4 separate regions of the Homo sapiens genome follow, and regions 1, 2 and 4 are each linked to region 3. The links are contacts of gene promoters, found by promoter capture Hi-C in blood cells and fetal thymus (Javierre and others, 2016). All regions are on one chromosome and are shown on one strand. Each heading gives the region's core, a stretch centred on a gene start or on the middle of the fragment in contact. The rest is flanking DNA. Distances are from core to core; before and after follow the strand shown.

Region 1 (2,700 bases), core at 186-2,685, 6.6 Mb after region 3:
CTTGTAAGCTTACTTTTTAGGTTTCTTTCTATTTATAAAGAAGAGAAAAAAATCACCATTTTTTGTGCAAATCATAGACCTTTGAGTTAGAAGGGCACCAAAAGTTTCAGCTCTATTCCCTTTAAACAAATACAACATTTATTGCATTAGTTATGGGTGAGGAAATTGAGGCTTAGAAGGATTTGAAGATTTGCTCAAGGTGGAGATTCTCAAAAGTGTCCTCAGATACCTGCATCCTAACTTCCTGGGAAGTTTGTTCTAAAGTTTAGACTCCAGAGCTTCACCCAAAACTTACTGCTAAATTAAATCCTTTAAAGGAAATCTGCATTTTTAGGATCTCCTCTTATGCCTTCCAGCATAGTGCTTCTCAAACCCTAATGTTCATCTGAATCACCTAGGAGTCTTATTAAACTGCAAAGTGTGATGTAGCATGTCTGGAGTGGGGCTCAAGATTCTGTTTTTGTTTGTTTGTTTTTGTTTTTCAACTTTTATTTTAGATTTAGAGGCCACATATGCAAGTTTGCTACCTGGGTATGCTGTGTGATGCTGACATTTGTGGTATGAATGATTTTATCACCCAGGTACTGACAATAGTACCCAACAGTTTTTCAACCTTTGCTCCCTCGGTCCCCTCTCTAGTAGTCCACAGTGTCTATTTGTTGCCATCTTTATATCCCTGAGTGATATGGTTTGGCTGTGTCCCCACCCAAATCTCATCTTGGCCAAGAAGCCAAGTTTTAATGGGTACACAAGTGCATAGGAATTGGAGAGTGGGGAGCGTGAGTTGACTATTGGTCAGGGACTGTCAACGGAAGGGAAGGAACCAATGATGGGAGTGAGAGCCCAGAACTCGGTGTTCGAAGTGGGTAATTTATGGGAGGGGCATACCTACGAGCAGACAATGCACTCAGACAAGGAAGATTTGCACATTGGACAGAAGAGACACCTTTTTCCTCTGCAATAAGAACCAAGGAGGTAAGTAGGGGGTCTGATATGAGTTTGTGCATGTGTGCAGGGTGAGTGAGACAATCCATATATTTGAGAAAAGACAGTGAAATCTTTAAAGGTAAAAATAATAAAACCAGCTGTGGCACCTATTGGATAAGGAATTACTAACTGATGATTTAGAAATTCCTTTATGTGCGTTAGGAGCTCATTTGTTATCCCCATTTTACAGATGCGCAGCCCCAGGTTCAGCAATTTGCTCTAAATGAGACTGTAGAGGCTAATTCCAGCCCCCGGCAGCTCTCACCTTAAGCTGCCTGGCTGAGGTCAGCAGTAAGTTACCTGGCAGCGTCCGGGGGCCTGCAGCCGAGGACAGGGCTGGAACTACACTTCCCAGTGTGCCAGGCGGGGCGGGGCGCGGCGGGGAGGGCGCAGGCTCCTTCCCAGAAGCAAAAGCGGAAACAAAAGAGTCTCGCCGGCGTCCCCGCCCGCACACTCGCGCACACTCGCGCTCGGGCGCACACGGAGCAGGGACCGGCGCCCGGAGCGAGCCAGGGAGCGGCTAACCGGGGACCCACCGCGCGGAGCCAGCCTAGCTGCCAGCGAGCCCAACCCGCGACGACCCACGCCCCTGAGCCCCGCAGCCGACCCCTGCCGGCCGGTGTCCCCACCGCCATCCCTGACCCATGGCGCTGAAGAGGATTCAGAAAGTGAGTGCCGGGGCCGGGCCTGGGGCTGCGGGGCAGCGGCCCCCTGCCCACGCTGACTCGGCCAGTGGTCCCGAGAGACATGCGGGGAGAGCAAGGGATGGAAGGGTGGGCCGGGGTGCGGGCAGGGAGCTGAAGGCTCGGGCCGGGCCAGCGGGCATCGGACAGGTGAGGTGGGAGCAGGGTCAGGTCCCAGGCGGCCGGAGGAGCTTGAAGGCTGGGGGCCCGCGCGCGTTCGCGCCGGAGCCGCTCCCGGAGCCCCAGGGTAGAGAGCCTCTTGCGCGTCCAGACCGTCCCGAAATCTGTGCTTCACGGTCACGGCCGGGTTTTGCCCTCCATGGGGCTAGTTTTGACCCCTGTCATGCTGTGTTTTCTCCAGGCTGTTTCTTAAGCCTGTCCTCTTTTATGTTCTTGCTTACCCGGCCTCCCCGGGAGGGCAAGGAAGGTGGGGTGGGCCTGCAGCCTTTCTCCGCGGAGCTGTCGGGTTGGTTCTTTCTCTCCTCTGCGGTTGGCTCTTGCTCAGTTGCCCGAATGGGCTGGAAAGCCCATTTGCGGCCAAGAAGTCAGGAGAAGGCTCCTGCCCCTTCTATTTTGGTGCCTCTGCTGCTGCCACTTCAGGTCACATAGCTGTAGCGAAAACATAGTTGCTGATACACAACAAGATGACCTCCTGGCTGTGATTCACGGTGAGTCAAGCCAAACAGGTTTTTTTCCCCCTCATGATAAACTTAGATGTAAAGTTCGAGACACAACATAAACTGTCGCAAATAAATTGTTTTGATGCTTTGACACATGGGTATAGAATGAGGAAGAAATATATATCTTCATCCAACAACTGTTTACCCATCTCAACCCTGTGTATGGAATCGTCTTTTTTTCACAGTATTTATTGCCACCATTTCAGATGCGAACATCCTTCAGAATTCAGATTCGGGCATTTCTTTCTGTTCATTTTTATTTCTTGTTGGTCTGTGTACTGACCCAAGTTTTAGGTTTTACAGTTACAGTTCACACTGGCAACATTGAGAATGTGTTTGTTAAATAGGGA
Region 2 (2,700 bases), core at 100-2,599, 8.9 Mb before region 3:
AATTAATTAAAAACTCATTTTTTCAGTTTCCCTAAGTATATTGTAAGTAACCACATGTGGCTAATGGCTAAATGGCTGAAAAGTACAGATATAGTATATTTCTATCCTTGCAGAAATAGATACTGCTGATGTTGACACTTAAGATGAATAAAAAGTAACTTAACCATAAAATGTAATCTTAAGAGAGGTAACTCATCTAATTTATAGCATAACAGAGAGAAATGAAATTGGGGATGGTTAAGCAGTTTCTACCCTTGTTCAGTGAACAAATACATCATCTCTTCATAAAGAAATAAATGAAATTTACTGTTTTTCCCTGGGTATTGCCTGGATTGTAAAATGCTTCTCCCATCTCCTTACCCCAACCTTCTTCCTTGTAGGTTAGAGTTACTTGTTATTGGTAAATAGCCACTATGGAGGCTAAGGACCAGAAGAAACACAGAAAGAAAAACAGTGGACCCAAAGCTGCAAAGAAAAAGAAGCGGCTTCTGCAGGATCTCCAGCTAGGAGACGAAGAAGATGCCCGGAAGAGAAATCCCAAAGCTTTTGCAGTTCAGTCTGCTGTGCGGATGGCTCGATCCTTTCACAGGTATGTTAGGCTACGGTCTGGTCATTCTTCCATTGATTCTTTTTTTAAATAGTAGGAGCCTCTCACAGGTGACATTTGGATTCACGAGTCTAGTCCAGCTCCAAAGGACATGGAGATTCATGGTGTGTGGCTTTCACTAAAACGTGAGAAGCTTTTCCCATAGAAGCTGCCTTGCCTCCAGCATCTGCATACTGGTTAGTGTTTATTGCCCAGGATACAAGAATTTATAGACTTTGTTTGTTCCTAAATTTTAAACTGTTTCTATGGTGATAAGTGTGCTTTTTCCCCCCAGGTATGTTTTACATAGTTGTAATATAAAATACAAAAATTACAATATTTAATACTAACATAGCTTTATTTAGTGAGCCCTTGTGATATGCCTAGCAGTGTACTTTAAACATTATTCAACTAAATCCTTCCAGCAGCCTTACCAGAGTAGGAATCATTCTTGCCCTCATTTTATGGGTAAGAAAACTGAGATCAAGAAAACAAGTTACCTCCAATCATATAACCAGTAAGTAGGAGAGCTAAATGTAACTCCAGCGCCTCTGCTCTTATCTGCTATGATGTACTGCCTCGCTATTTACCTTTTGGTTTTTTAAAAAACTATTAAAATCACTCTTAAAACAGTCAGATTTAAGGAGTGTTTAATTTTCGCTCTCTATAGTATTGAAGTCATCTTGTTACATCTTTATTGAACAGCAATTATTTGGATGGGGCCAGAAGTTAGCAAGTTAATAATTGACAAGTTAATTATATTTATATATTGTCTGTTGTACTCTCTATAAAATGTGCTAAAGTACTCATAGCTATAAGTGTACCAAAAAAGTCTACTTATAAGGTTGATACCTTTTACTCTATTTTGAAAATGAGTTTACTATTTATTTATTTGTTTATTTTTTAATGAATAGGACTCAGGATTTGAAGACAAAAAAGCATCATATTCCAGTGGTTGATCGAACTCCACTAGAGCCCCCACCAATAGTGGTAGTGGTGATGGGACCTCCAAAAGTTGGAAAGAGCACTTTGATACAATGCCTCATTCGGAACTTTACCCGGCAGAAGTTGACTGAGATCAGAGGCCCTGTGACGATTGTGTCAGGTAGGAGATGCCACCACAGACACAGAGTTGGCGTGGCTGTTGTCATCTGAGGGACATGCATGCGTTTGTTGTTTTCTTGAGTGGAACATGTTAAATATTGTCATATCATGGGACTTCTCTTATACTTAGTATTACTAAGTTGGCTATAGCTTCAGAAAAGGGTAAGTTCCCAGAGATAAGGATGTGATAATGTTCACATTTCCTCCCAGCACTCTGGGAGGTTCCAAGGCAGGAAGATACTCGAACCCAGCACTCGGGCTGGAAAATCAAGCTTTGCTGCTCGATTGCGACACCAGCCACAGTCCTCTTCCTCCGTGTAGAAGGATGTGTGGTCCAGCCTCTTAAGGTGATGCTTTCCTTTTCTTCCTGGTTTCCTCCTCCATTTTTTGTATGAGAAATGATAATGTTCACTATGTCTTATCCTGACTGCTCTTTGGCTTTGCCAAACATGTTCCTTGGAAGGGCCTAGCAGGCCTAGTCACCGTGAACACATCATTTAACAGATAGCACGCACCTCCTATGTGCCAGGTGCATATGCTTGCCTTATGAAGCCACATTCTGGTGGAAGTGCGAGTTTTCTCTTTTTCCTGTGAGAATTGTCTGCTTTGGGAGATGGTGACCTTTCCGAGTTTGAGGGAAAATGAAACAAACTTCCAGTGGTAGAATGGCAATGTACACTCTGAAATCTCTTGTTATTGCAATAATATAGTTGGATTGAGGCTTTTCTTTATCTTTGGAGCATCCATATTTTCTTTTCCCTTTTTTGAGACAGAGTCTTACTCTGTGGTACAGGCTGGAGTGCAGTGGTGTGATTACGGCTCACTGCAGCCTCTACCTCCCAGGTTCAAGCATTCCTCCTACCTTAGCCTCCTGAGTAGTGTATGCCACCACGCCTGGCTAATTTTTCTTTTTTTTCCTTTTTTTTTTTTTTCTGTAGAGATGGGGTTTCCCCATATGGCCCAGGCTGGTCTCAAAACTCCTGGGCTCAAGGGATCCGCCTGCCTTGGCC
Region 3 (2,700 bases), core at 156-2,655:
CCATGCCCCTTGCTTCCATCCCTCTGGTTTCCATCGCACAGGTCTCCATTCCTCTCCTCTCCATTACACGTGTCTCTAAGACCTCAGTTTCCATGGCACGAGTCTCCATCGCTCGAGAATCTCTACCACCTCTACCATCCATAGGTAGACCCCTTTGATCTATCATGGGGCCTCTGGGCTCTCCAATTAGCAGTCTGGGATCTCCTAATGGCCCTCCCCTCATCTCATGTGAGGAAGGGCCACGAGTGTCATGACCAGAGGCATGATGCATGGGGGGACCCTGATGGGGTGGACCCAGATAACCTCTGGGCTCCACTTCTCCAGTGACTGAAAGCAAAGTCCCTCCACGTGGGTCATTTGGAGCATCTCCTAACAGTCCTCGAGGAGGCAGACCACCAGGAGTCACGGGTCCGCGAGGTATAGGAGCTCTAGGATCTGACATCTGCACTTGTCCCCGCTCTAAAGGCACTGGGCCAACCCCTGGCATTCCAAGTTGGGGCTGCATTGCTCCTCCAGGAGTTAAGGAACCAGGACCAGCTCCGGGAACTGCAGCTGGTATTGGCCCTGGAGCTGGAATTCCACCCTGGATAGGAGTCTGCATCAGAGGAGGAATGTCCTTCACAGGTCTTCTAGCCAAATGCTGAGGCTGAGGAGCTGGAGGATTCTGCTGGTTCAGCAGAACATTAGGTCCTGGGCAGAGCCCAGGGCCAGGGCCAGGGCCAGGGCCAGAGACAGACACAGACTGAGATTTGCCTGGGATCAGTGGTGTGACATGTATCTTCCGATGCAGAATTTTCAGAGCAATCTCTGGATCCATGATTCTCATCACTACTTGTGCCTGCAACAGTGCATAAGCCAGTTGTGGATTTTGAAGTAACATGTTTCGAGCTTCCTGGTGGCTGTTTTGGACACAGAGCTTCATCTGCTTCATCAGCTCAAACATCTGCTCCGGGGGGAGACTGGCTACTGCTCTGGTAATCGATTCAGGGGCATCTTCTGGATCGATGGGATCCCCATAGGGTGAGTCAATAATGGGCGCTGCAGGCCCAAGGCTCTTTAACTCCTCCTTATTCTTTTCACTGGCAGCATTGTCCACCCGAAGCGCTCTCCCACTGAACTCCCGCCCATTGAGGTTCCGCATGGCACTAAGCGCGGTCTCCTGGTCTTGGTATTCGCAGAAGCCATAGCCCTTGGGTTTTCCCGTCTCTCTATCGTATACCAGCCGGAAACTGACAACAGAACCAACCTCCGAGAAAATGTCCTTTAACTGCTCCTCAGTTGCCTCATATGGAATGTTCCCCACGAACACGGAACGCAGTGATCGATCCATTGCCGGGTCTCTCACCGCCAAACTCGACATGATTCCGGTTGTGCAGACAGCCGATAGCGGATTCTTCGAGGCGTCTGTCCTCTTGCGACCGACACTTCCGCTGAGCAACGGAAGCGGCTTTCAAGATCCGGGCAGAAACTTTACTAATTCGCTTGAATCGTTCCGCTTGCCTGTGGAACCTGCATCCCACTAACAACTTATCTAATGCTTTCAGTCCCTGATCCTTCATGGTTCTGTCAGCTTCTTATTACAGAGTCGCATGATTCCTTTCCCATTTCACGTTCCGCTGACTTTCTGTGGGGCCCCAACAGCCCCACTACGACACGCTTGGTACGAGATGACCACAGTAAAGATGGCCGCATAGACTTCACCGTAGTAACTGGGAGGGGACTCTTCCCTTGACGTCAAAGGCGGTTTTGCTTCCGTTCCGCTGGCGGGAAACCGCCAACCGAAAGCGGATTTAAGGCGGCGTGTTTTTCGTTCTGACAAAGTATTTTCATGTGGCCTTTTATTATAGTATAGTTAAGCTAGATTTAAAATCACATTCCAGACTGAGGGAAAAGCGTAGTCGTTTCAGCACATTTGAGATTTGCCCCTTAAACTAAAACAGTATTATATCTCCTTTTTAGAACAACGTTTTTGGAAATTAACTGACAAGAAATATAAACTGAAGCGTGTGCCGGCTGGGCCCTGCCCCCATTCTGTTGCTTCCTATAACCGCTGTTAATGGATGGGTGGCAGACCCTTCTAGGTTTTTCCTGAGCACACGGGCAGCCGTCGTGCTATTCCTAATATTACGGTTTTCTTCCTTAATAACAACCGATTTCAATATTAATTGGTGATTAAATAAATTAGTGATTAATTAGTTATTAGTATTTTATGGCTTCAGAGTATGGAATAAAGAAATTTACTTAACTATCCCTACGTTGATTGGTTCTGATTTTTATTATATCATGCAGTGAGTCCACCACTTCCATGAAGGGAGAAACAAATAGCGGGTGTTTGTCTTCTGCTGTTAGCTTTGCAGGTAGGAGTTAAAACATATTCAGTGTGGTGTTTCCCCGCCTGCAATTCGAAGCTAGAACTGAAGCTTGGAGAGGGCTAGGTAAATTCCCAAGGACAAGCAGCTGGAAAGAGGCCAAGTCAGGATTCTAACCCAGCTTGGTCTCGCATAGCTCCAATTCTACACTGCCTTACGTGTATTGAATATATGAAATGAAGCTAGTGTGATTGAAGAAATGAATTTTAAATCTCATTTTTTATTTAAATATAAAAACTAATGTTCAGTAAGCTATTGGAAAACTTTTTTAGTATTTAGAACAACTTGGATATAGAATCTACTTTTGCAATAATAAATTGTGTTCTAAATA
Region 4 (2,700 bases), core at 125-2,624, 6.6 Mb after region 3:
CTCACTCATAGGTGGGAACTGAACAACGAGAACACTTGGACACAGGGCAGGGAACATCACACACCGGGGCCTGTCGTGGGGTTGGGGGGATGGGGGAGGGATAGCATTAGGAGAAATACCTAATGTAAATGACTAGTTAACGAGTGCAGCAAACCAACACTGCACATGTATACATATGTAACAAACCTGCACGTTGTGCACATGTACCCCAGAACTTAAAGTATAATAAATAAATAAAAAAATCTCATCCTGAATTCTTTATTCTAGGCTTGTTTTCTGAAGTAGTATGGGTGTAGAAATTCTGAAAATTGTAAGATTAAGCAAAAGAATAAACATATTAATATCACTGGGAGCCAGGGTTCTTACTACAGAAGAAGGGAAATACAAATTTAGAATCAAGGGAAAGGAAGAACTCGGGTTTAAATGAAATTTGAAATATGAAATTATAATTTCTAAAATATTTATACATACTTTAAAAATCATGTCCATTGAAAAGTCCTGGAAGAAATGATACTCCAACAGTTATGACAATACCTAGTAACACAGATCTTGGTTTCTAAATACCATTTTCCACTAAAAAGAAACCAGGGCTCCTTGAAGAAATGGTTGACTCTAGGGCTGGGGAAGAAAGTTATGAGATAATTCTAAAAAATCTGTTATGACAGAAAGGAAGTGCTCTCAATGGTCAAATTTGGGACCATTTGAGCAACAAAATAAATAAGTTCCTTTTTTAAAAACATTGAGATGTGATTAAAGTCCAATAAATAAGTTCCATAATGGGTAATGATACATGTTATCAAATAGGAATCCATGATGCAAACTGATTATAAATAAGGACATAAATACTTAAGGGTAAAGGAAGAGCTATTTCTTGGAATGCTAGCTGTTAAAGCAGAGGGAGTGAAAGAATGGGGGGAAAAAATCACAATTTTGTAACTATCAGAATAAACACAGCTTCAGGCAAGAATCAACAGATGCCAAATCTAGGGATGAAGTTGATGAGAATCCAGATAGCTGCATGACTGTAAAGTGTCTCCTCACATATAGCTTATTAAATGTAGAACAGAAAACATTAACTATATACTGAAGCCAGGCATGGTGACTCATTCCTGTAATCCTAGCACTTTGGGAGGCTGAAGCAGAAGGATCACTTGAAGCCAGTAGTTCAAGACCAGCCTGGGCAACAAAGCCAGATCCCATCTCTACAAAAAATTTTAAAATTAGCCTGGCCCAGCAGTGGTTCATGCCTGTAATCCCAGCACTTTGGCAGGCAGAGGTGGGTGGATCACCTGAGGCCAGGAGCTCAAGACCAGCCTGGCCAACATGGCAAAACCCCGTCTCTACTAAAAATACAAAAATTAGCCAGGCATGGTGGTGCACTCCTGTAATCCTAGCTACTTAAGAGGCTGAGGCACGAGAATCACTTGAACCTGGGAGGCGGAGGTTGCAGTGAGTCAAGACCGCGCCACTGTTCTCCAGCCTGGGCAACAGAGCAAGACTCCGTTAAAAAAAAAAAAAATTAGCCTGGCCTAGTGGTGTGCACCTATACTCCCGGCTACTCAGGAGGCTGAGGCAGGAGGATTGCTTGAGCCCTGAAGTTTGAGGCTGCAGTGAACTACATCACGCCACTGCACTCCAGCCTAGGTGACACAGCAAGAGCCTGTCTCAAAAAACAAACAAACAAAACGATATACTGAAGAAGCCAGACTACACTTGAATCAGACAACCAGAAATAATCCACTACCAAAGGGCAGCTATTGTTGGCCTCCACTTACACAATGTTCCAGCTGGAAAAGTATCATCTGAATCCCATCGTAAGGAACTATCAGAAACCCAAATTAAAGAACATTTCATAAAATAACTGGCCTGTACTCTTCAAAATGACAATGTCATAAAGGACAGGGAAAGGCTGAGGATATGTTACAAATGAAAGGACACTAAAAGACATAACAACTAATTGCAATAAATGATTCTGGACCAGATCCTGTACTGAGAAAAACAAATGTGATAAAAGACATTACAGTATTGGAACAGTTGACAAAGTGAGACTATGGACTATAGATTAAAGTATTATATCCCTGTTAAATTTCCCATAGTTGATCAATGTGCTGTGGCTACAGAAGAGAATATCCTTGTTCTTAAGGAAGACACACTTTAGTATTAACATGTAAAGTGGCATAATGTATGCAACCTACTTGCAAATAGTTAAGAAAAATTATTTGCATTGAGAGATAATAAAACAAATTTTGCAAAATGTTACTTTTCTATTGTTCTTGCAACTTTTCTGTAGGCTTGAAATTATTTTAGGTTAATTAGTTTCAGAGGATATCTAATAAAAAGAGACTACTAAGCCAAGATAATTGTAGGTCTTTCTCCCCCACAACAATTATCAGTTTAAATCCTTGTTTTCCCTATAGACTACCCCATTTCTACATCCTACATCAGATCAAGAAATATCAGATTTCCATCATTTGTTTAAAACTTTAAGGACTTTTTAAAGAACTTAATGATACATATTAAAAGAATTTTATGCTAACTTTGGTGAGTTTTGGGAATTTATATTGATCTTTTTTTTGCGAAAACTTCCTACAGAGATAGGTACACAACGTGCAAGGTATGCTATTATATACAAGAATGTTTAATAAGTACATTACTTATCACAGCAAACAAATGGTGAAAAGTCTAAAAATCTATGATTAC

What was found. Contacts are between HindIII fragments. The CHiCAGO score rates a contact against its expected background, and 5 or more counts as called.
Region 1: the fragment with the promoter of UBE2D1 here is called in contact with the fragment with the promoter of CSTF2T in region 3 in 1 of 17 cell types (activated CD4 T cells); the score reaches 10.3 in activated CD4 T cells.
Region 2: a contact is called between a fragment that was not itself captured here and the fragment with the promoter of CSTF2T in region 3, in 1 of 17 cell types (monocytes). The highest score is 7.5, in monocytes.
Region 4: a contact is called between a fragment that was not itself captured here and the fragment with the promoter of CSTF2T in region 3, in 2 of 17 cell types (total B cells and non-activated CD4 T cells). The highest score is 7.9, in total B cells.

What each region holds. Positions count from the first base shown.
Region 1 is chr10:58,333,571-58,336,270 of GRCh38, forward strand. It overlaps UBE2D1 (ubiquitin conjugating enzyme E2 D1), which reads left to right and starts at 1,436. Exons shown (of 7, transcript NM_003338.5): 1 at 1,436-1,655. The coding sequence starts at 1,632. RefSeq lists enhancers at 1,100-1,600, 1,199-1,493 and a silencer at 1,301-1,820. The HindIII fragment of the contact is 6,404 bases long and covers 7-2,700 here.
Region 2 is chr10:42,783,982-42,786,681 of GRCh38, forward strand. It overlaps BMS1 (BMS1 ribosome biogenesis factor), which reads left to right. Exons shown (of 23, transcript NM_014753.4): 2 at 381-589; 3 at 1,501-1,691. The coding sequence starts at 414. Among named protein-coding and RNA genes, the nearest start is that of BMS1, 2.5 kb to the left of the region's middle. The HindIII fragment of the contact is 1,222 bases long and covers 739-1,960 here.
Region 3 is chr10:51,698,190-51,700,889 of GRCh38, forward strand. CSTF2T (cleavage stimulation factor subunit 2 tau variant) reads right to left here and starts at 1,406. Exons shown (of 1, transcript NM_015235.3): 1 at 1-1,406. The coding sequence starts at 1,360. All of the region lies in intron 3 of PRKG1 (protein kinase cGMP-dependent 1), which reads left to right. RefSeq lists enhancers at 1,094-1,673, 1,798-2,486 and a silencer at 2,240-2,534. The HindIII fragment of the contact is 5,025 bases long and covers 1-2,418 here.
Region 4 is chr10:58,262,017-58,264,716 of GRCh38, forward strand. The region is part of intron 1 of IPMK (inositol polyphosphate multikinase); the gene reads right to left. Among named protein-coding and RNA genes, the nearest start is that of IPMK, 4.5 kb to the right of the region's middle. The HindIII fragment of the contact is 3,933 bases long and covers 1-2,700 here.